Regions from separate parts of the Homo sapiens genome. Here regions 1, 2, 3, 4, 5 and 7 are each linked to region 6. Evidence: promoter capture Hi-C in 16 types of primary human blood cells and fetal thymus (Javierre and others, 2016). All regions are on one chromosome and are shown on one strand. Each heading gives the region's core, a stretch centred on a gene start or on the middle of the fragment in contact. The rest is flanking DNA. Distances are from core to core; before and after follow the strand shown.

Region 1 (2,813 bases), core at 118-2,617, 500 kb after region 6:
TGAGCCCTGCCCAACCCCTGACCCAAAAAATCATGACAGATGATAAATGCTTGTTGCTTTCAGTCACTAGGTTGGAGGTAGTTTGTTGTGCCGCAATAGGTCATCAAAATACTACTCCTGGTCAGGCACGGTGGCTCACGCCTATAATCCCAGCACTTCGGGAGGCCAAGGTGGGCGGATCACCTGAGGTGAGGAGTTCGAGACCAGCCTGGACAACATGGCGAAACCCCATCTCTACAAAAAATACAAAAATTAGCCAGGTGTGGTAGCGGGTGCCTGTAATCCCAGCTACTCCGGAGGCTGAGGCAGGAGAATCGCTTGAACCCAGTAGGCGGAGGTTGCAGTGAGCTGAGATCGCACCACTGCACTCCAGCCTGGGCAACAGAGTGAGGCTCCATCTCAGAAAAACAAAACAAACAAAAAAATGCTACTCCATTGTCTTTTCACACAGAATGCTGCTGTTGAAAAAAATCTAATGTCAATCTGATCCTTATTCTTTCATATGGGATCTGATCTTTTGCTCTGTAAGCTTTTGGAATTCTGTCTTTGAAATCCTTAAAAGTTCACTAGAATATATCTAGCTGGGGGTTGTCTTTATCTCCTCTTTGACATTCTATGGGCCCTTTCAGGCTGGGGTGTTCTATCTTATGTTGTCAATTATAGGAAATTTTTCTCCATTATTTCTTCAAAGATTTCCTCCTCTCCATTTTTATTTTTCCCTTTCTGGTCTCTTATGATTTAGATGCTAGTGCTTCTGTTTGTATCCTCAATACCTCTTAGCTCATCGGGCGCAGTGGCTCACACCTGTAATCCCAGCACTTTGGGAGTATGAGGCGGGTGGATCACTTGAGGTCAGGAGTTCAAGGCCAGCCTGGCCAACATGGTGAAACCCCTTCTCTGCTAAAAATACCGAAAAAAAAATTAGCCGGGCGTGATGGCGGGTACCTGTAGTCCCAGCTACTCTGGAGGCTGAGGCAGGAGAATGGCGTGAACCTGGGAGGCAGAGCTTGCAGTGAGCAGAGATTGCGCCACTGCACTCCAGCTTGGGCAACACAGCAAGACTCCATCTCAAAAAAAAAAAAAAAAAAAATAGCCAGGCATGGTGGCGGGTGCCTGTAGTAACAGTTACTTGGGAGGGGAAATTTAGGCAGGAGAATCACTTGAATCTGGGAGGCAGAGGTTGCAGTGAGCCCAGATCGCTCCATTGTACTCCAGCCTGGGTGACAAGAGCAAGACTCCATCTCAAAAAAAATAAAAAATAAAAAAAATACCAGTTTTCCACTCCCTTTGCCAACTCTCGACATTACGGAACATTTTGATTTCTTACCATCCAATGGGTGGAAAATGATGCTTTGTTGTTTTCATCCGCACAGCTCTAATGACTAACAATGCTGAACATCTTTCCAGATGTTTATCAGCCATTGGTATTTCCTCTTCCAGGAGTAACCTATTGGTATCCTTCACCCGTTTTTCCACAGAGCTGCTTGTTCTCTCTTAGTTACTGGTTCTTTACACGTGCTGACCTGTCCTTTGTCCACTATTCACTACCAGATATTTTCTCCCTGTCTGCTGCTCGCCTTTTAGCTTTCTTTGATGATCCTGGTTGCTCTTCTGCGTTTACTGAGCCTGAAAATGGAGTTTGGAAACAGGCGTAACCACAGGCCTTTCAGAAGACACTAATCACTCCGTCTCCTCCCCTCCAGCTCGCTCCGGGTGCCCTCACTGAAGCACTTAGCTCTCTGCTCAAGTTACTCCTGCCCATCTGTGTTGACTGTGTTTTGGAAGGTAGAGGCTGCATTCCTTCATTTCTATCTCTCCCCCAGGGCCTAGCAAAGCGTTTTATAGGTTGTAGGTAGGAAAACCAAAGTGAATTAAGGCTGCCATTAAAATCGACAAGACTGGATCCCAAATGTGATTTCACTTGACTTCACTAAGCAGGTATCACCATCACCACACTGTGGCTTTCCTCCTTCCCAGAAACAGAAAACAATCCCAGAAGGCATGTGGGCTGGCTCAATAAAATATTAAGCAGCTCTTTCCAACGATGTGGCTGATGGTTTGTGTGGTTGTTAGAGAGCCCAGGAGACAGGCAGAAAGGAAGGCATGTGACCGGATCACAATCATCAGCTCTCTGCTGTCCTCTTTGGGAAGGGTTTTAGTATTAAAAGGACATTTATTCTCATTAATGCAAAATTAAGGAGTTTTAAAAGCTTTTACAACCTAGACTCCCTCTGAGAGGTTAGCCTTGACACCCTAATCGCCTTCTGCTCCCGCCACTGCTCGGTGCCAAGCAGCTCCCACGGCCCCGGCGGGTCTGATGATAGCCGGACAGGAGGGAGGAAGGGGAGGAGGAAGAGCCTGCATCAGCTCCTACGATTGCCCAGCCCCATCCTGGGAGTGATTAAACGGTGCATCACCAAATGCCAGTCCCACTGACAGGCAGGTCACCGTGCACTTCAGGGCACTCTAAATTGCCGACTCTCCATGTAGAGAGGGATGAATCCAATATTGAAATCCTCATAACTACAGCCCCCCAAAGTAGCCGTCCATCTTCTGCTTAAAATGTTGATCTGTAGTAAAATGTTGATTTTGTTGAAGCTGAGTGATGGGTATATGCTGTTCACAGTACTGTTCTCCCTATTTTTGTTTGTCTAAATTAAATCTTTCATAATTTCTTTTTTTTTTTTTTGAGACGAAGTCTTGTTCTGTCGCCCAGGTTGGAGTGCAGTGGCGCGATCTCGGCTCACTGCAACCTCTGCCTCCCGGGTTCAAGTGATTTTCCTGCCTTAGCCTCCCAAGTAGCTGGGATTATA
Region 2 (2,721 bases), core at 151-2,650, 410 kb after region 6:
AGGATCTTGCTGTGTTGCCCAGGCTGGTCTTGAATTCCTGGGCTCAAGCAATCCCCCTACCTCGGAGATTTCTGTATTTCCGAATGCATCCTAATGAAAGTTAAAGACAAGTGATAGGCTGGGGAAAATATTTGAGATATATAAAAAGGCAATGTGTTTTAGGGCCGGGCGCGGTAGCTCACACCTGTAATCCCAGCACTTTGGGAAGCCGAGGCGGGTGGATCACTTGAGGTCAGGAGTTCGAGACCAGCCTGGCCCACATGGAGAAACCCCATCTCTACTGAAAATACAAAAAAATTAGCCAAGTGTGGTGGCGGGCACCTGTAGTCCCAGCTACTCAGGAGGTTGAAGCAGGAGAATCACTTGAACTCAGGAGGCAGAGATCGCGCCACTGTACTCCAGCCTGGGCTAGAGAGCAAGACTCTGTCTTTTTAAAAAAAAAAAAAAAAAAAAGGCATGCCAGGCACGGTGGCTCACACCTGTAATCCCAGCACTTTGGGAGGCTGAGGCGGGCAGATCACGAGGTCAGGAGATCGAGACCATCCTGGCTAACCTGGTGAAACTCTGTCTCTACTAAAAATACAAAAAATTAGGCGGGCGTGATGGTGAGTGCCTGTAGTCCCAGCTACTCGGGAGGCTGAGGCAGGAGAATGGTGTGAACCCGGGAGGTGGAGCTTGCAGTGAGCATGCCACTGCACTCCAGCCTGGGCAATAGAGCAAGACCCCGTCTCAAAAAAAAAATAGAAAGGCATTGTGTTTTTAAAAGTCTATAATATATTACAAGCGCCTATGAATCAATAGAAAGACAAACAGTCTAAAAGAAAACTGAGAAAAGATTATAAACAAGCACCTCACAGAGGAGAAAATACACACAGTGAATAAACAAAGTGAAAGATGTTTGGAATCACTGGTGGTCAGGAAAATGAAAATTAGAACCTAAAGAGTTAACCCTTTTCACCCACCAGACTGGAAAAGAACAAAAAAAAAAAAAAAAGGATAATTTGCAGTGTTAGTGATAAGTAGGAGAATGAGTATTTCTGTACACCGTTGTGGGGAGAGAGTAAATGAGTATCTTTTAGAGACAAATTTGGCAATAACTATTATAACTTTATTTTATTTATTTAAAAAAAAATTTTTTTTTTTGAGATGGAGTCTCCCTCTGTTGCCCAGGCTGGAGTGCAGTGGCGCGATCTCGGCTCACTGCAACCTCCGCCTCCCAGGTTCAAGTGATCCTCCTGCCCCAGCCTCCCAAGTAGCTGGGATTACAAGCGTGCCCCACCACGCCCTACTAGTTTTTGTATTTTTAGTAGAGATGGGTTTTCACCATGTTGGCTAGGCTGGTCTGGAACTCCTGACCTCAAGTGATCCACCTGCCTTGGCCTCCCAAAGTGCTGGGATTACAGGCATGAGCCACTGCGCCTGGCCACTATTATAACTTTAAATATGCATGCGGTTGAACCCAGATATTCCAATTCAAAATATTTTCTGAAACATATGTGCACCTGTGCACAGGGTCATAGACAAGATCGTGCACTGTGACATTGTCACAACACAGCTGGAAACACCTGACTGTCTGTCAGTGGGGGAGTGGTGAAATTAGCCAAGGTGCAGCCGCAATTGCAGACGAATCTGGTGAAAAGAAGCTAGACTTTCATATTTTGGCATAAGAAGTGCTCCAAGACATATGGTTAATAGTTAATCAAAAAAACCAACTTGTAGAATACAGACAGTATGATAATATTTTATGTTAAATAAATAAAACTTTTTCTGTGTGCACATATACACACACAAATGTCAAAGGCCTAGAAAACTCCACAAAGTATATGGGTAAAGGACTTAAAAAAAAAAAAAGTATGTAAAATGCTGGGCTGCTTTACAATGAAACTCTATTCATGTGACGTGGATGTTGTTAGGCTGGGTGCGGTGGCTCACGCCTATAATCCCATCATTGAGAGGCAGAGGCGGGAGGATTGCTTGAGCCCCGGAGTTACAGACCAGCCTGGGCAACATGGTGAAACCCTATCCCTGCAACAAATAGAAAAATTAGCTGGGCGGGGTGGCACGCATCTATAGTCCCAGCTACTCGGGAGGCTGAGGTGGGAAAATTACCTGAGCCCAGGGAGGTCAAGGCTGCAGCGAGTCGTGGTCGCGCCACTGCACTCCAGCCTGCCCAACAGAGTGAGAACCTGTCTCAAAAACAATAATAAAATAAAATAAAGTAAAATAATAAAAAGAAACTGTTATATTGAATCTGATGATGGATGTGTAGAGGTTTATTATTCTAATATCTTAACTTCATGTTTAAAATTTTTATAATAAAAATGTCTTAATTGAAGAATTGCTTAAAAAAGTAAAACTCTGAAGGCCTCTGATAAAATGCTTTAAAATGATATGAATAAAGTTGTGATTGGTTCCTCTTAGCAGCATAGGGAGGAAATATTCGCCCTTGCCCAGTGGGGAAACTGAGGCTCAGAGAGGTGAGGCAGTTGCCTGTAGTCCCAGCTACTTGGGATGCTGAGGCAGGAGAATCACCTGAACCCGGGAGGCAGAGGTTGTGCCACTGCACTCCAGCCTGGTGACACAGCGGAACTCCATCTCAAAAAATAAATAAATAAATAAATAAATAAATAAATAAACAAAGTCATTGCTCTAAATAAGGTTATTTTAGATACAAAAAAATGCTATGAAAATAAATGAAGATAGGGTGACAGAAAGTGACTG
Region 3 (2,763 bases), core at 140-2,639, 390 kb after region 6:
TTGAAGAGTTCCAGCACTGCGTCGCTGAAGCTGCCGTAGGAGCTGCAGTCCTTGTTGTCTTTGGGACACTTCTCGATCAGCGAGGCCAAGGCTAAGGGAACATAACAGGGTGCTCTCCTCAGCTCTCTGCCTGGTAATTACTCTACAAGCTTGCGTGTATTTGCCTACATGACAAGCCTGCTGCCTCCTTCTCTCTGGCCATTAAATCCCATCTCCAGTTTCAGGTCCTCTCAAAGCCTCATCAGGCTGGCTTCTCTGGCCTGGCCTCCTGCAGAAAGCCCTTCCACCTAACAAAGCCCAGAGTCTTCTCTCCTTCCTTTACCCCGCAGTCTGCCCTTGATCACTTGCAGCCTTGCAGAGCCACTAATTATAATCCATGTGTGTGTCCCTGGCTCCCCAGCTAGTCTTTGAGCTCCTGACTTCCTCTAGCCTGGGTCACCTCCCTCAAGGCTGTAAGATCCTGAGTCTCCTCCTAATGCTCTGTTTTGAGTTCCCTGTGAGCAAGACCAGGCTCACACTTCCCTTCTTTCCAACACACCACAGTAGAGGTTCACTGCTGAATGGTTGGATGGATGGATGGATGGATGGATGGATGGATATGGAGGGATGGATGGAGGGATGGATGATTAGATGGAGGGATGGATGGATGGATGGATGGATGATTGGATGGATGGATGGATGGATGGATGGATAGATGATTAGATGGATGGATGGATAGATGATTGGATGGATGGATGGATGGATGGGTGATTAGATGGATGGATGGATGGATGGATAGATGGATGGATGGACCAATTGATCGATGGATGGATGGATGATTAAATGGATGAATGGATGGATGACTGGATGGATGGATGGATGGATGGATGGATGATTAGATGGATGATTAGATGGATGGATGGACTGATTGATCGATGGATGGATGGATGATTGGATGGATGGATAGATGGATGGATGGATGGATGGATGGATGGATGGATGGATGGATTGATGGATGAATGATTAGATGGATGGATGGATGGATGGATAGCTGGATGGATGGACCGATTGATCGATGGATGGATGATTAAATGGATGAATGGATGGATGACTGGATGGATGGATGGATGGATGGATGGATGGATGGATGATTGGATGGATGATTAGATGGATGGATGGATGGATGGATGGATGGATAGATGGATAGATCAATGGATGGATCGATGGATGAATGATTGGATGGATGGATGGATGGATGGATGGATGGATGGATGGACGGATAGACAGGTGGATGAGCAAATTAAATGAGAGAGTAAATAGATGGATGAATAAACAAGCAGGTGAAGGAGCAAATAAATAAGCAAATTGTGACCCAGAAAAGGTACCAGACAGATGGAAACAGCTACTTAATTTCAAATGTCAATGGTCACTGAAGAAAAGAAAAAAAAGCAACTGGTACGTGGGGGAAAATGATATCTCTCTATGCAGAGGTTAGAAATACAACCAGATCGTGCTGTTCCCTCTGTTGTAAATGGAGAGATTTTAAGAGGGGGCTCCTTCCTGGTCCCAGCAGACCAGAGAGGCTCTCACAGTTGTATCTAAAGCAAACTGTGAGAGTAACGTGATGTGAAATCCAAAGGAAATCACCTCAGGGTATTAGTTTGCTCCTACTTTGCAAAGACCATCAGTTGAGTTTCTGTGGACTTTAGTTTCCGCATCTGTTAAAATGGGGCTGAAAACACTTGCAGAACCTATCTTAGGTCGTGAGGGCCACGTAAGCAATGAATGGGAAAGCCAGAGGTATATACCACATGGTGAAGTTGGATTATGAGTGGCTGGCCTGGTTTGAATCCTGGAGTCTCTAAGCCTCAGTTACCTTATGATCGGGGTGATGATTCCCACTTGATCAAGTTGTTGAGAGAAGTAAAAAGGTAATGCTTGATTAGGAGATATACCTAATGTAAATGACGAGTTAATGGGTGCAGCATACCAACATGGCACATGTATACATATGTAACAAACCTGCATGTTGTGCACATGTACCCTAGAACTTAAAGTATAATAAAATATATATGTATATATATAAAGGTAATGCTTGGAAAATGCCAAGCATGGCAAGTGCCCCACTGGTAGTTGGTCTAATTGTTGCCAAGGCCGCCATGCACTTTGCCATTTTGACATCTGTATAAAGTGTTTATAAATGTGGGAGTTACTATTATTTATAAATCAATTACCTACTCCAAATCCAAGCAAAAACACGATATATACAAACAAGAACTTCAGAACATCATGCAAAATGACCTATAAGGAAATAAACATAATTCAAGTGTAAGGTGCAAGCACATATTCACGGCACCCTGATCTTCCTGCTTCCCACCCTCTCCCACCCCCCACCCTAACTGTCTCTTCACTTGGGCCACTCTCCCTTCCCCCAGCCAAATCCTCCTGATGCTCCAAGGCTCAACACTGGATCCTGCCTCCTCCAGGAAGCCTTCTGTTTCTGCTCCAGCCCCAGGTTCTCTTCTCCCTGTGATTCACCCTGTACCTTTCACCATAGGGTCTCACACTGGAATCCTCACACTTGCTGGGGGCAGTGGCATGCTGGAGCCAGCTCAGAAGAGCTCGCAAGAGCTGATCGTTAAATTCTCATGAAGCTTGTGAGCTGGTTGTTAAACACAGCCATTATTCAGAACTAAATCAATGAATAAGATGAATAAGTTCTGGGGATCTAATGGACAGCATGATGACTATAGTGAACAATACCGTGTTGTGTACTAGAAATTT
Region 4 (2,700 bases), core at 87-2,586, 440 kb after region 6:
TTTGTGGGGCCAAGGCGGGAGGACTGCTTGAGGCCAGGAGTTCAAGACCAGCCTGAGCAACATAGCAAGACCACATCTCTGCACGGGGAAAAAAAAATTGCCAGGCGTGGTGGCTCACGCTTGTAGACCCAGCTACTCAGGAGGCTAAGGCAGGAGGATCGCTCGAGCTCAAGAGTTTGAGGCTGCATTGAGCCATGACCACACCACTGTGCTCCCACCTGGGCAAGAGAGCAAGACCCTGTCTCAAAAAAATAAAATTAAAATAAAGCTTATTAATTTTTTAAAAAAGAAAGACATATGAATTGCAGGTATATCCTTCCTTAAACAATCTCAGGTTTCCAATCTAATAACAAAAAATTTCTATCATTAGTTTTGCAAAAGTACAACCACAGGATCCCTTCCAGCTCTGAGTAAATTTGAAAGCTGATCCAGGCTGGGCACGGTGGCTCACACCTGTAATCCCAGTACTTTGGGAAACCAAGGCAGCTGGATCACTTGAGGTCAGGAGTTCAAGACCAGCCCCGCCAACATGGTGAAACCCCATTTCTACTAAAACTACAAAAATTAGCCAGGCGTGGTGGCAGGCACCTGTCATCCAGCTACTAAAGAGGCTGAGGCAGGGGAATCCCTTGAACCCAGAAGGCAGAGGTTGCAGTGAGCTGAGATCATGCCACTGCACTCCAGCCTGGGTGACAGAGCAAGACTCTGTCTCAAAAAACAAAACAAAACAAAAAGCTGATCCAATTTGCAGAAGTTTGCAGCTGTCTGACACCCACACATTTTCTAAGAAAGGCCTACAGGTAAAGCATGGAGCCCCAGGCCCACAGCAGGAAGCGAGAAGCCCTCCCACCTCCCTCTGGCCCAGGATAGGCTGGCATGCCCCAGCACATTCTCTGCCAGGCAGCCTGACACAGCAGTTAAGAGCCAGGCTTTGGAGTCAGACTGCCTGGGGTCAAACCTAGGCAACGTGTTTACTGGCTGTGCAACCTTACTCACTGTTGGAACCTTGATTTTCTCATCTATAAAAGGGAACTAATAATAGCTTCTTCACGAGCTGTTAGGAGACTTAAAGGGAGATGCACATGGAGCACCTTCATAAACACTCCCCACATCCCGGCTGTCGGCCTCCCTCCTCCAGGCTCCAGGCTCACTTGCCATAGTCACATGCAGGCAACTGGGGCTCCTCCGTGGCGCCTCCTATGTGGAGGCAGACATGATGCTAGAGAACAGGGAGGAGGGATCCCAGTATTTTCTCCCAAAACACCTCTCCTGGTAGGGCCCAAGCCTCAGCCTCAGCCAAAGTTCATCCTTTCATGAACCAACATCCAATAATTCCACAACTGAACAACTCATTCTACACTCCGCAGATACTAACACAACCTGCCCAGTCTGGAACAGATCTCTCTTTCAGAGTATCTGTTTCTTTTTTTTTTTTCACAATGTGTTTATTTTTTATCTTTTTTTTTTTAATTTATTTTTTTATTGATCATTCTTGGGTGTTTCTCACAGAGGGGGATTTGGCAGGGTCATAGGACGATAGTGGAGGGAAGGTCAGCAGATAAACAAGTGAACAAAGGTCTCTGGTTTTCCTAGGCAGAGGACCCTGCGGCCTTCCGCAGTGTTTGTGTCTCTGGGTACTTGAGATTAGGGAGTGGTGATGACTCTTAACGAGCATGCTGCCTTCAAGCATCTGTTTAACAAAGCACATCTTGCACCGCCCTTAATCCATTTAACCCTGAGTGGACACAGCACATGTTTCAGAGAGCACAGGGTTGGGGGTAAGGTCACAGATCAACAGGATCCCAAGGCAGAAGAATTTTTCTTAGTACAGAACAAAATGAAGTCTCCCATGTCTACTTCTTTCTACGCAGACACGGCAACCATCCGATTTCTCAATCTTTTCCCCACCTTTCCCCCTTTTCTATTCCACAAAACCGCCATTGTCATCATGGCCCGTTCTCAATGAGCTGTTGGGCACACCTCCCAGACGGGGTGGTGGCCGGGCAGAGGGGCTCCTCACTTCCCAGTAGGGGCGGCCAGGCAGAGGCGCCCCTCACCTCCCGGACGGGGCGGCTGGCCTGGCGGTGGGTGACCCCCACCTCCTTCCTGGACGGGGTGGCTGCCGGGCGGAGACGCTCCTCACTTCCCAGTAGGGGCAGCTGCCGGGTGGAGGGGCTCCTCACTTCTCAGACGGGGCGGCTGGGCAGAGACGCTCCTCACCTCCCAGACGGGGTCGTGGCCGGGCAGAGGCGCTCCTCACATCCCAGATGGGGCGGCGGGGCAGAGGCGCTCCCCACATCTCAGACGATGGGCGGCCGGGCGGAGACAGTCCTCACTTTCCAGACGGGGCAGCCAGGCAGAGGGGCTCCTCACATCCCAGACGATGGGCGGCCAGGCAGAGGCTGCAAGCTTTGCACTTTGGGAGGCCAAGGCAGGCGGCTGGGAGGTGGAGGTTGTAGTGAGCCGAGATCACGCCACTGCACTCCAGCCTGGGCACCATTGAGCACTGAGTGAACCAGACACCGTCTGCAATCCCGGCACCTCGGGAGGCCGAGGCTGGCGGATCACTCGCGGTTAGGAGCTGGAGACCAGCCCGGCCAACACAGCGAAACCCGTCTCCACCAAAAAAATACGAAAACCAGTCAGGCGTGGCGGCGCGCGCCTGCAATCGCAGGCACTGGGCAGGCTGAGGCAGGAGAA
Region 5 (2,700 bases), core at 10-2,509, 370 kb after region 6:
ATTTTGATTGTTTCCTGAGAGGATCAAGACTGGAAACCACTGCATCCTGGGGATCCCATGTTTTTAACTCTTGATGGGAAGACGATCCCACTGGGCGGAGACTGTACCGTGTACCCCGTGTTTGTGAATGAGGCCGCATATTACGAAAAGAAAGAAGCTTTTGCAAAGACAACTAAACTAACGCTCAATGCAAAAAGTATTCGCTGCTGTTTACATTAGAAATCACTTCCAGCTTACATCTTACACGGTGTCTTACAAATTCTGCTAGTCTGTAAGCTCCTTAAGAGTAGGGTTGTGCCTTATTCAACTGCATACATAGCTCCTAGCACAGTGCCTTATTCGGTAGGCATCTAAGCACATTTCTTAAATTAATTAATATATCTTTAAAGATATCATATTTTATGTATGTAGCTTATTCAAAGAAGTGTTTCCTATTTCTATATAGTTTATTATACATGATACTTGGGTAGCTCAACATTCTTAATAAACAGCCTTTGTATTCAGAATATAAAATTGAAATAGATATATATAAAGTTATTTGTTTTATTGTGCTTTGCCTTACTACACTTCACGGATACTGTACTTGTACTTTTTTTCCAAATTGAAGGTTTTTGGCAACCCTGTGTCTAGAAAGTCTAACAGTGCCATGTTTCCAACAGCATGTGCTCACTCCTTGTCTCTGTGTCACCCTTTGATAATATTTCAAGCTTTTTTATGATTTATTTATTATATCTGCTATGGTGATCTGTGATCAGTGGCCTTTGATGTTACTGTTGTTAAGTGTTTTGGGGCACCATGAATCGTGCCCATGTGAGACTGCGAACTTAGTGAATGTTGTGTGAGTTCTAACTGCTCTACTGACCGGCCATTTCCTTGTCTCTCTCCCTGTCCTCTGGCCTCCCTGTTCCTTGAGACACAATAATTAATAAGTCTACAGCAGACTCTGTGTGTTCAAGTGAAAGAAAGGGTCATACTTCTAGAAATTAAGCTTAGTAAGGAAGGCATGTCAAAAGCTGAGACAGGCTGAAAGCTAGGCCTCTTGCACTGGTTAGCCAAGTTGTGAATTCAAAGAAAAGGATCTTGAAGAAAATTAAAAATTCTACTCCAGTGCACACACACAAATGATAAGAAAGCAAAACAACCTTATTGCTGATATGGAGACAGTTTTAGTGGTCTGGATAGAAGATCAAACCAGCCACACATTAAGCCAAAGCATGACCCACAGCAAGGCCCTAACTCTCTTCAATTCTGTGAAGGCTGAGAGAGGTGAGGAAGCTGCAGGAAGCTGGGAGAGGTTGGTTCACAAGGTTTAAGGAAAGAAGACAGCTCTAAAACCTACAAGTGGAAAGCGAACCAGCAAGTTGCTGATGTGGAAGCTGTAGCAAGTTATCCAGAAGATGTAGCTAAAATCATTGACAAAGATGGCTACACTAAACAACGGATCTTCAGTGTAGTTGAAACAGCCTTCTATTGGAAGAAGATGCTATCTAGGACTTTCCTAGCTAGAGGGGAGAAATGAATGCCTAGCTTCAAAGCTTCAAAGGACAGCCTGACTCTCTTAAGAGCTAACACAGCTGGTGACTTTGGGTTAAAGCCAAAGCTCATTAACTGTTTCAAAAATCCTAAAACTCTTGTTTTTTGTTTTTTTTTTGAGACGGAGTCTTGCTCTGTCGTCCAGGCTGGAGTGCAGTGGCGCAATCTCGGCTCACTGCAAGCTCCGCCTCCCAGGTTCATGCCATTCTCCTGCCTCAGCCTCCCCAGTAGCTGAGATTACAGGTGCCTGCCACCACGCCCGGCTAATTTTTTGCATTTTTTTAGTAGAGATGGGGTTTCACTCTGCTAGCCAGGATGGTCTCGATCTCCTGACCTCATGATCCGCCTGCCTCGGCCTCCCAAAGTGCTGGGATTACAGGCATGAGCCACCACGCCCGGCCCAAAAATCGTAGGACTCTGAAGACTGATGCTAAACCTGCTGTGTCTGAGCTCTATAAATGGAACAACAAAGCCTCGCTGGCAGCACATCTGTTTGCGGCATGGTTTACTGTATATTTTAAGCCCACTGTTGAGACCTACTGCTTGGGAAAAAAAAAAATTCCTTTCAAAATACTACTGCTGATTGACAATACACCATGTTACCCAAGAGCTCTGCTGGAGATGTGCGAAGAGATTAGCATTGTTTTCGCGCCTGCTACCACGACATCCAGCCGAAGCCCATGGATCAAGGCGTCATTGTGACTTTCAAATCTAACTATTTAAGAAATACATTTCAGGCTGGGGGAGGGGAGAAAAAAGAAAAAAAAGAAAGGAAGAAAAAAATCATTTCATAAGGCTATAGCTGCCATAGATAGTGATTCCTCTGATGGAGCTGGGCAAAGTAAACAGAAAACCTCTGGAAAGGATTCAGCATTCCAGATGCCATTAAGAACATTCAGGATCCGTGGGAGGAGATCAAAATATCAACATTAACAGGAGTTTGGAAAAAGTGAATTCCAACCCTCTTGGATGACTCTGAGGAATTCGAGACTTGAGTAAAGGAAGTCATGCAGATGTACAGCAAGAGAATGAGAAGTGGAGCCTGAAGATGTAACTGAACTGCTGCAATCTCATGATCACACTTGAATGGATGAGGAGTCGCTTCTTATAAATGAGCAAAAAAGTGGTTTCTTGGCTGCAATCAACTCTTGTTGCAGATGCTGTGAA
Region 6 (2,788 bases), core at 77-2,576:
TTTTATTCTTGGCCCTATACAACAGCCCAGCCAGATATTCCCTTATTTCAGTCATGAGCTGTCCCATGTTGTTTAAAAAGCATTAACTAATAACATTATTAAATCATCAATATTATTAACTATAGTAAATATAATAAGGCATGACATTATATTATACATCTGGATGGCTGTGGTTTTAGAACATAATTGTAAGAACTTCACCTGTGACATTGGCCTGATGATGGGTTATGATGCAGTCCTGTAGCTTAGACATGAATATTTCAGGTTCAGATCGTAGGTACTGGAACAGAGGTCTCTAGATTCTCTCCATCTTTCATTCTTCACTGCTTACTGTGGTGAACGCAGGTGCATGGAGACCCCCATATTGGATGTCAAGTCACTACCACTAAGGGGAATGAATTTTCCGAACCCAGATTAACTTTCTCAGGGAAGACTTTATTTCTTGGTTCCTCAAACTGTAGATAAAGGGATTCAACATTGGAGTTACCACTGTGTACATCACTGATGCAACTGTGTCCTTCTGGGCCGAGTGGGTTGAGGGAGAACTGAAATCAACACAAAAAGAAGTCCCAAAGAAGAGAGAGACCACGGAGAGATGAGAGCTGCAGGTGGAAAAGGCTTTCCGCTTCCCCTGAGCTGATGGGATCTTCAGGATGGTCGAGAAAACGTTCGTGTAAGAGATAATCAGGCAAAGCACACAAATGAGTCCTGTGAGACCCCCAGTGATGAAGATCACCAGCTCATTGGTGAAGGGGTCTGTGCAGGACAGACTCAGGAGGGGATTGATGTCACAGAAGAAGTGTGGGATCTCATGGTTTGCGCAGAAGGACAGGCTGTTCATCAGAAGTGTGTGTAGAAGGGAGTGGAGGGCATTCATGATCCAGGATGCAGACACGAGGAAGATGCAGAGCCCAGGGCTCATGATCAGAATGTAATGAAGTGGGTGGCATATGGCCACGTAGCAGTCATAGGCCATGACCGCCAAGAGGAATGCCTCCAGCATCACAAATAACATGAAAAAATACAACTGTAGTAGACACCCTGAGTAGGAGATGGCCTGACTCTGGATCTGTATGTTTGCCAGCATCTTAGGGACTGTGGTGGACACAAAGCAGGCATCTGCAAGGGAGAGGTTGGCTAGAAAGAAGTACATGGGGGTATGGAGTTGAGTGTCAGTAATGATGACTAGAATGATGAGGAGGTTGCCTGCCACCGTGACCAAGTACATGAACAGGAAGGACCCAAAGAGGGGCTTCTGCTCCTCCAGCTGCTCAGAGAACCCCAGGAGGAAACATTCTGAGATGCTGGTCAGATTTTTCCCCTCCATTTGTCTGTAGGAAGAAAGTTGGGTTAATTGGGTGACGTTGGTAAGCCCTGGATTGTGAACTCTGAAAATTATGCAATATTCCAGTGTTGATCTTCTAGTGTGAGGTTGGATCATAGGAAATCTCCACTATTTGACTCTTTGGGACCTGCAAAAATGGCCATTTCATAGGGTTCGACTAAATATTTGCAAATTCCTGTGCTTGGTGCTATGAGAAACCACAGATTTGTTTGTAATGCAATGAGAGGCTTTTAAATTTATTCCATAAGCATTAAGCCAATATGTGTATTTTGGGGCTGGGCTGGAGGGGCTTGCTGGCTTTGCTCTGGTAGTGTTCATGTAGAAACTATGACATTTATACAACCCAAGATTTTACAGGTCAAATGAGCCCATTGTACCAATAATTAAAAAGACAGCTCCTGGAAAGGGGTTTTGGAATTGGGAAAAGCATGGCTAACATGGAAATCATTATCACTGTTATCTACACAGCGGGTCTGGCCAGAAACCTGAGCGTCATTATTGACCCACGTTTCTCCCTCCCTGCCTACATCCAACCACCACCAAAGCCTGGCAATTTTACCTTCTCAATATGGCTACAATTTACTGACGTCTCTCTGTTTACTGGTCACCATCAGTCCCAGCTGCAGCTCATGTCATTCAGGGCACTGTGATTTCTCACTTGGATTTGGGCAGTTGATCTCCATGCCCCCAGGTATGCCCACCTGCCACCTGCTGTTCTAAATACACAGAGAATAGGCTTGCTAAAAATCAAATTCGACTCTTGTCTTTCTGCTTGAAAAATCCTTCATACACTCCTCATTACTCCCAGGATAAACTCTAAACTGAACACGGCTGAATGTCCTGGATCTTACCGTCATTTATTACAGACATCCCCAGTTCCTCATGAAACTCCCTCCTCCACTCCACACTTTATGCACTAATCATAGTTTCAATTATTTTAAAGGCCCAGATACTCCCTCACCTTTAGGCTTTCTCAGGCTGAAATAGTTTTTCCCATCCCATTTATCAGACGAGCTAAGCTTCAGGTCTCACCTTAGATGTCACCTCTTCTGGGAAGTCTTTCCCAACTCATCCTCTCACCAGAAACTCAGGTTCGTGACCTTCCTAATGCAGTGCCTCCCCCATCACAGCACGTGTCACCTTGGATTCTGAGTGTCTGTTTATATGAGTGTCCCTCATTCTGCTGTGAGCATCACTGGGAGTAGGCAGAGATGGTGCCTAATTGGCTCAGCTTTGAAATCTAGCATTAGCCTTGAGGCTGGTACAACACAGATGCTCAGTATGAATCTATCATGTAAATACATAAACCCCAGAGAATGGAAAGAGTGGGAAGAATGGAAAGGGGCTTTGCTATAGAGGTAATATCAGGCATAAGAATTAGCCTGAACCTTTATTATTATTGTTATGATTTTTGAGATGGAGTCTCACTCTGTCACCCAGGCT
Region 7 (2,700 bases), core at 66-2,565, 460 kb after region 6:
ACAGTGAGTCCCACATTCAAAGAAAAGATTACTCCTGCATTAAAAAAAAAAAAAATGGCCAAGGATTGCACATGTTTGAGTTTCAGGTTAAAAATAAAACAATTCCTTGCTGGTGTGGTGGCTCACGCCTGTAATCCCAGCACTTTGGGAGGCTGAGGCAGGTGGATCACCTGAGGTCAGGAGTTCGAGACCAGCCTGGCCAACATGGTGAAACCCCACCTCTACTAAAAATACAAAAAAATTAGCCGGCTGTGGTGGCAGGCGCCTGTAATCCCAGCTACTCAGGAGAATTTTTTGAACCCAAGAGGCGGAGGTTGCAGTGAGCCGAGATCGTGCCACTAGCCTCCAGCCTAGATGACAAAGCGAAACTCCACCTCAAAAAAAAAAAAAAAAGATTCCAGTATGCAAGGAGATTTCCTTCACTGCTCAGAGCTTTAACAGATTGGTTTAATTAAAAAACTACCAGTCATGATCCTATCACTTAAGAGGCCTCCACTCTGCCCCTGTAATCAAATACTCCGTTCCGTGGAGTGGCTGGAGTGTCTACTTTCAAGCTTGCCTGCCTTGGGCCTGTGGAGACGCCCTGAGCACCCTCCCGCCCCGCGGTGACTGACTGAAGGGCTCTCATCTTCACCTCTGCGTCTCTCAGCTCCCCAAGTAGGGCTATGATGTGTCTGATGAATTAAAAAGTGAGTGAGCGCTGAGGGATCTTCTTGGCTTTTTGTTTTGGTGATAATGGAAACTCACAATGTGGGAAGGAACGCTTACCCCTCGGAAAAAGAAGTAGACTCCTCCTAACACAGACAGGATCTCTCCAGTAACTCGGAAATAGTCTCCAGTTTTTTCCATCTTAAAGGGAGGCTGTGAGATGCAGAGAAGTTGGTAACTCCATTTACTCATTCGTTCATTCAACAAACATGGACCAGGTCCATGAAGCCATAGTCCCTGCCCAGGAGGCACAGCCTCCATCAGGGGAAGGACACACAAAGACAGTGTGTTATTAGGGGAGCGCCCGCAAGGAGGCCCCTCTGTGGGCCTGATTCCCCAAAGTGGCAGCCTGCAGGTGCCAAGCGGAGCATCTTACAATGCTGTGCCGCCTCCCAAGCAATGTCCCGGCAGGCCCAGAGCTCCTCCTGGCTGGGAGCAGAGTGATGGACAGCAGGGTGATGGAGAGGTGGAAGCACTCTCATGGACCCCACGCCATACACATCCCGCTGCCACCCCAGCCCATGGCCAGTCTCCCACGAGTGTCAGGGACTCCCACTGACCATGGAGGGAGAGACTGTGCCACACACACTTGTGGGTGTCACCCTTGTATTTCAGTGGCCATTTCCTGGAGTGGGTCACCATCCACATTTCCTAAGCACTAGTTCATCAGCTTGCCTTACCAGCACATTTTTCTCTTAAAAAGAAGTCACTGGCCGGGTGCAGTGGCTCACGCCTGTAATCCCAGCACTTTGGGAGGCCGAGGCGGGCGGATCACCTGAGGTCGAGAGTTCGAGACCAGCCTGACCAACATGGAGAAACCCCATCTCTACTAAAAATACAAAATTAGCCAGGCGTGGTAGCTCATGGCTGTAATCCCAGCTACTTGGGAGACAGAAGAATCACTTGAACCCCGGAGCCAGAGGTTGCGGTGAGCCAAGGTGGCGCCACTGCACTCCAGCCTGGGCAACAGAGCGAGACTCTGTCTCAAAAAACAAAAAACAAAAAACAAAAAAAAAGAGGGAGGCTGAGGCAGGAGAATGGCGTGAACCCAGGAGGCAGAGCTTGCAGTGAGCTGAGATCACACCACTGCACTCCAGCCTGGAAAACAGAGAGAGACTCTGTCTCAAAAAAAAAAAAAATAAAATAAAAAAAAAAGGAAGTCATTATGTGGCCTTAATAGGTGGACAGAAATCGGGTTTCATGCAATTATGAAGTTGAGTTTTTAAAGTAAATGTGCAGCCGGGCACGGTGGCTCACACCTGTAATCCAAGCACTTTGGGAGGCCGAGGCAGGCGATCACTTGAGGTCAGGAGTTCAAGACTAGCCTGGCCAATACGGTGAAATCCCATCTCTACTAAAAATATAAAAATAAGCTTGGCATGTTGGTGGGTGCCTGTAGTCCCAGCTATTCGGGAGGCCGAGGCAGAAGAGTCACTTGAACCCGGGAGGTGGAGGTTGCAGTGAGCAGAGATTGCGCCACTGCACTCCAGCCTGGGTGATAGAGCGAGACTCCATCTCAAAAAAACAAAAATTAAGTAAGTAAGTAAACTTGTAAAGTGCCCTGGAAACAAAAGCAGCAAATTAAGTGTCCTGGGTATCAGACACGAAGGACTAAGTCCAGAAGTTTGATGAAGTCTTGGCTCTTGGCAGAGGAAAAAGGCTGGTCTTAGGCTGATTTGATGGATGGCCCAGGGCCTGGCACAGAGCTGCTCAAAAGTCTAAATCCAGGGAATGAATAATGAGCAAGTGAGTGAATGAAAGAGGGCAGGCAAGCAGGATGATGGTGGGCTCTGGGCTTAGACACCAGCCCACATCCCTGGGGACCCCCAGGCCAGGGGTGAGCCCTGTCCCGAGCCCAAATTCCTGCGTGATTTTTCTTTTTTTTTTTTTGAGACAGAGTTTCACTCTTGTTGACCAGCCTGGAGTGCAGTGGTGCCATCTCAGCTCATCACAACCTCTGCCTCCAAGGTTTAAGCGATTCTCCTGTCTCAG

What was found. The method cuts DNA at HindIII sites, captures the fragments that hold promoters and counts their contacts. A CHiCAGO score of 5 or more calls a contact.
Region 1: a fragment that was not itself captured here is called in contact with the fragment with the promoter of OR1G1 in region 6 in 3 of 17 cell types (M0 macrophages, M1 macrophages and endothelial precursors); the score reaches 7.6 in M0 macrophages.
Region 2: a fragment that was not itself captured here is called in contact with the fragment with the promoter of OR1G1 in region 6 in 9 of 17 cell types (M2 macrophages, M1 macrophages, M0 macrophages and 6 more); the score reaches 16.5 in M2 macrophages.
Region 3: a fragment that was not itself captured here is called in contact with the fragment with the promoter of OR1G1 in region 6 in 8 of 17 cell types (M1 macrophages, M0 macrophages, endothelial precursors and 5 more); the score reaches 16.7 in M1 macrophages.
Region 4: a fragment that was not itself captured here is called in contact with the fragment with the promoter of OR1G1 in region 6 in 2 of 17 cell types (M1 macrophages and M2 macrophages); the score reaches 6.6 in M1 macrophages.
Region 5: a contact is called between a fragment that was not itself captured here and the fragment with the promoter of OR1G1 in region 6, in 5 of 17 cell types (M1 macrophages, endothelial precursors, M0 macrophages and 2 more). The highest score is 12.1, in M1 macrophages.
Region 7: a fragment that was not itself captured here is called in contact with the fragment with the promoter of OR1G1 in region 6 in 5 of 17 cell types (M0 macrophages, endothelial precursors, M1 macrophages and 2 more); the score reaches 7.2 in M0 macrophages.

What each region holds. Positions count from the first base shown.
Region 1 is chr17:3,625,652-3,628,464 of GRCh38, forward strand. The region is part of intron 2 of SHPK (sedoheptulokinase); the gene reads right to left. Among named protein-coding and RNA genes, the nearest start is that of SHPK, 9.2 kb to the right of the region's middle. The HindIII fragment of the contact is 1,681 bases long and covers 528-2,208 here.
Region 2 is chr17:3,537,460-3,540,180 of GRCh38, forward strand. The region is part of intron 6 of TRPV3 (transient receptor potential cation channel subfamily V member 3); the gene reads right to left. Among named protein-coding and RNA genes, the nearest start is that of TRPV3, 19 kb to the right of the region's middle. The HindIII fragment of the contact is 3,774 bases long and covers 1-2,721 here.
Region 3 is chr17:3,518,760-3,521,522 of GRCh38, forward strand. It overlaps TRPV3 (transient receptor potential cation channel subfamily V member 3), which reads right to left. Exons shown (of 18, transcript NM_145068.4): 14 at 2,214-2,280; 15 at 1-91. Among named protein-coding and RNA genes, the nearest start is that of TRPV3, 38 kb to the right of the region's middle. The HindIII fragment of the contact is 2,484 bases long and covers 148-2,631 here.
Region 4 is chr17:3,562,220-3,564,919 of GRCh38, forward strand. No RefSeq gene overlaps it. Among named protein-coding and RNA genes, the nearest start is that of TRPV3, 5.8 kb to the left of the region's middle. RefSeq lists enhancers at 656-855, 1,076-1,125, 1,421-2,219. The HindIII fragment of the contact is 2,141 bases long and covers 267-2,407 here.
Region 5 is chr17:3,498,870-3,501,569 of GRCh38, forward strand. ASPA (aspartoacylase) reads left to right here. Exons shown (of 6, transcript NM_000049.4): 6 at 22-2,700. The coding sequence ends at 219. It also overlaps a transcript of SPATA22 not described here. Among named protein-coding and RNA genes, the nearest start is that of ASPA, 24 kb to the left of the region's middle. The HindIII fragment of the contact is 547 bases long and covers 987-1,533 here.
Region 6 is chr17:3,126,225-3,129,012 of GRCh38, forward strand. OR1G1 (olfactory receptor family 1 subfamily G member 1) reads right to left here and starts at 1,327. Exons shown (of 1, transcript NM_003555.1): 1 at 386-1,327. The coding sequence starts at 1,327. The coding sequence ends at 386. The HindIII fragment of the contact is 3,090 bases long and covers 1-2,362 here.
Region 7 is chr17:3,582,570-3,585,269 of GRCh38, forward strand. It overlaps TRPV1 (transient receptor potential cation channel subfamily V member 1), which reads right to left. Exons shown (of 17, transcript NM_080704.4): 10 at 769-861. Among named protein-coding and RNA genes, the nearest start is that of TRPV1, 25 kb to the right of the region's middle. The HindIII fragment of the contact is 1,527 bases long and covers 553-2,079 here.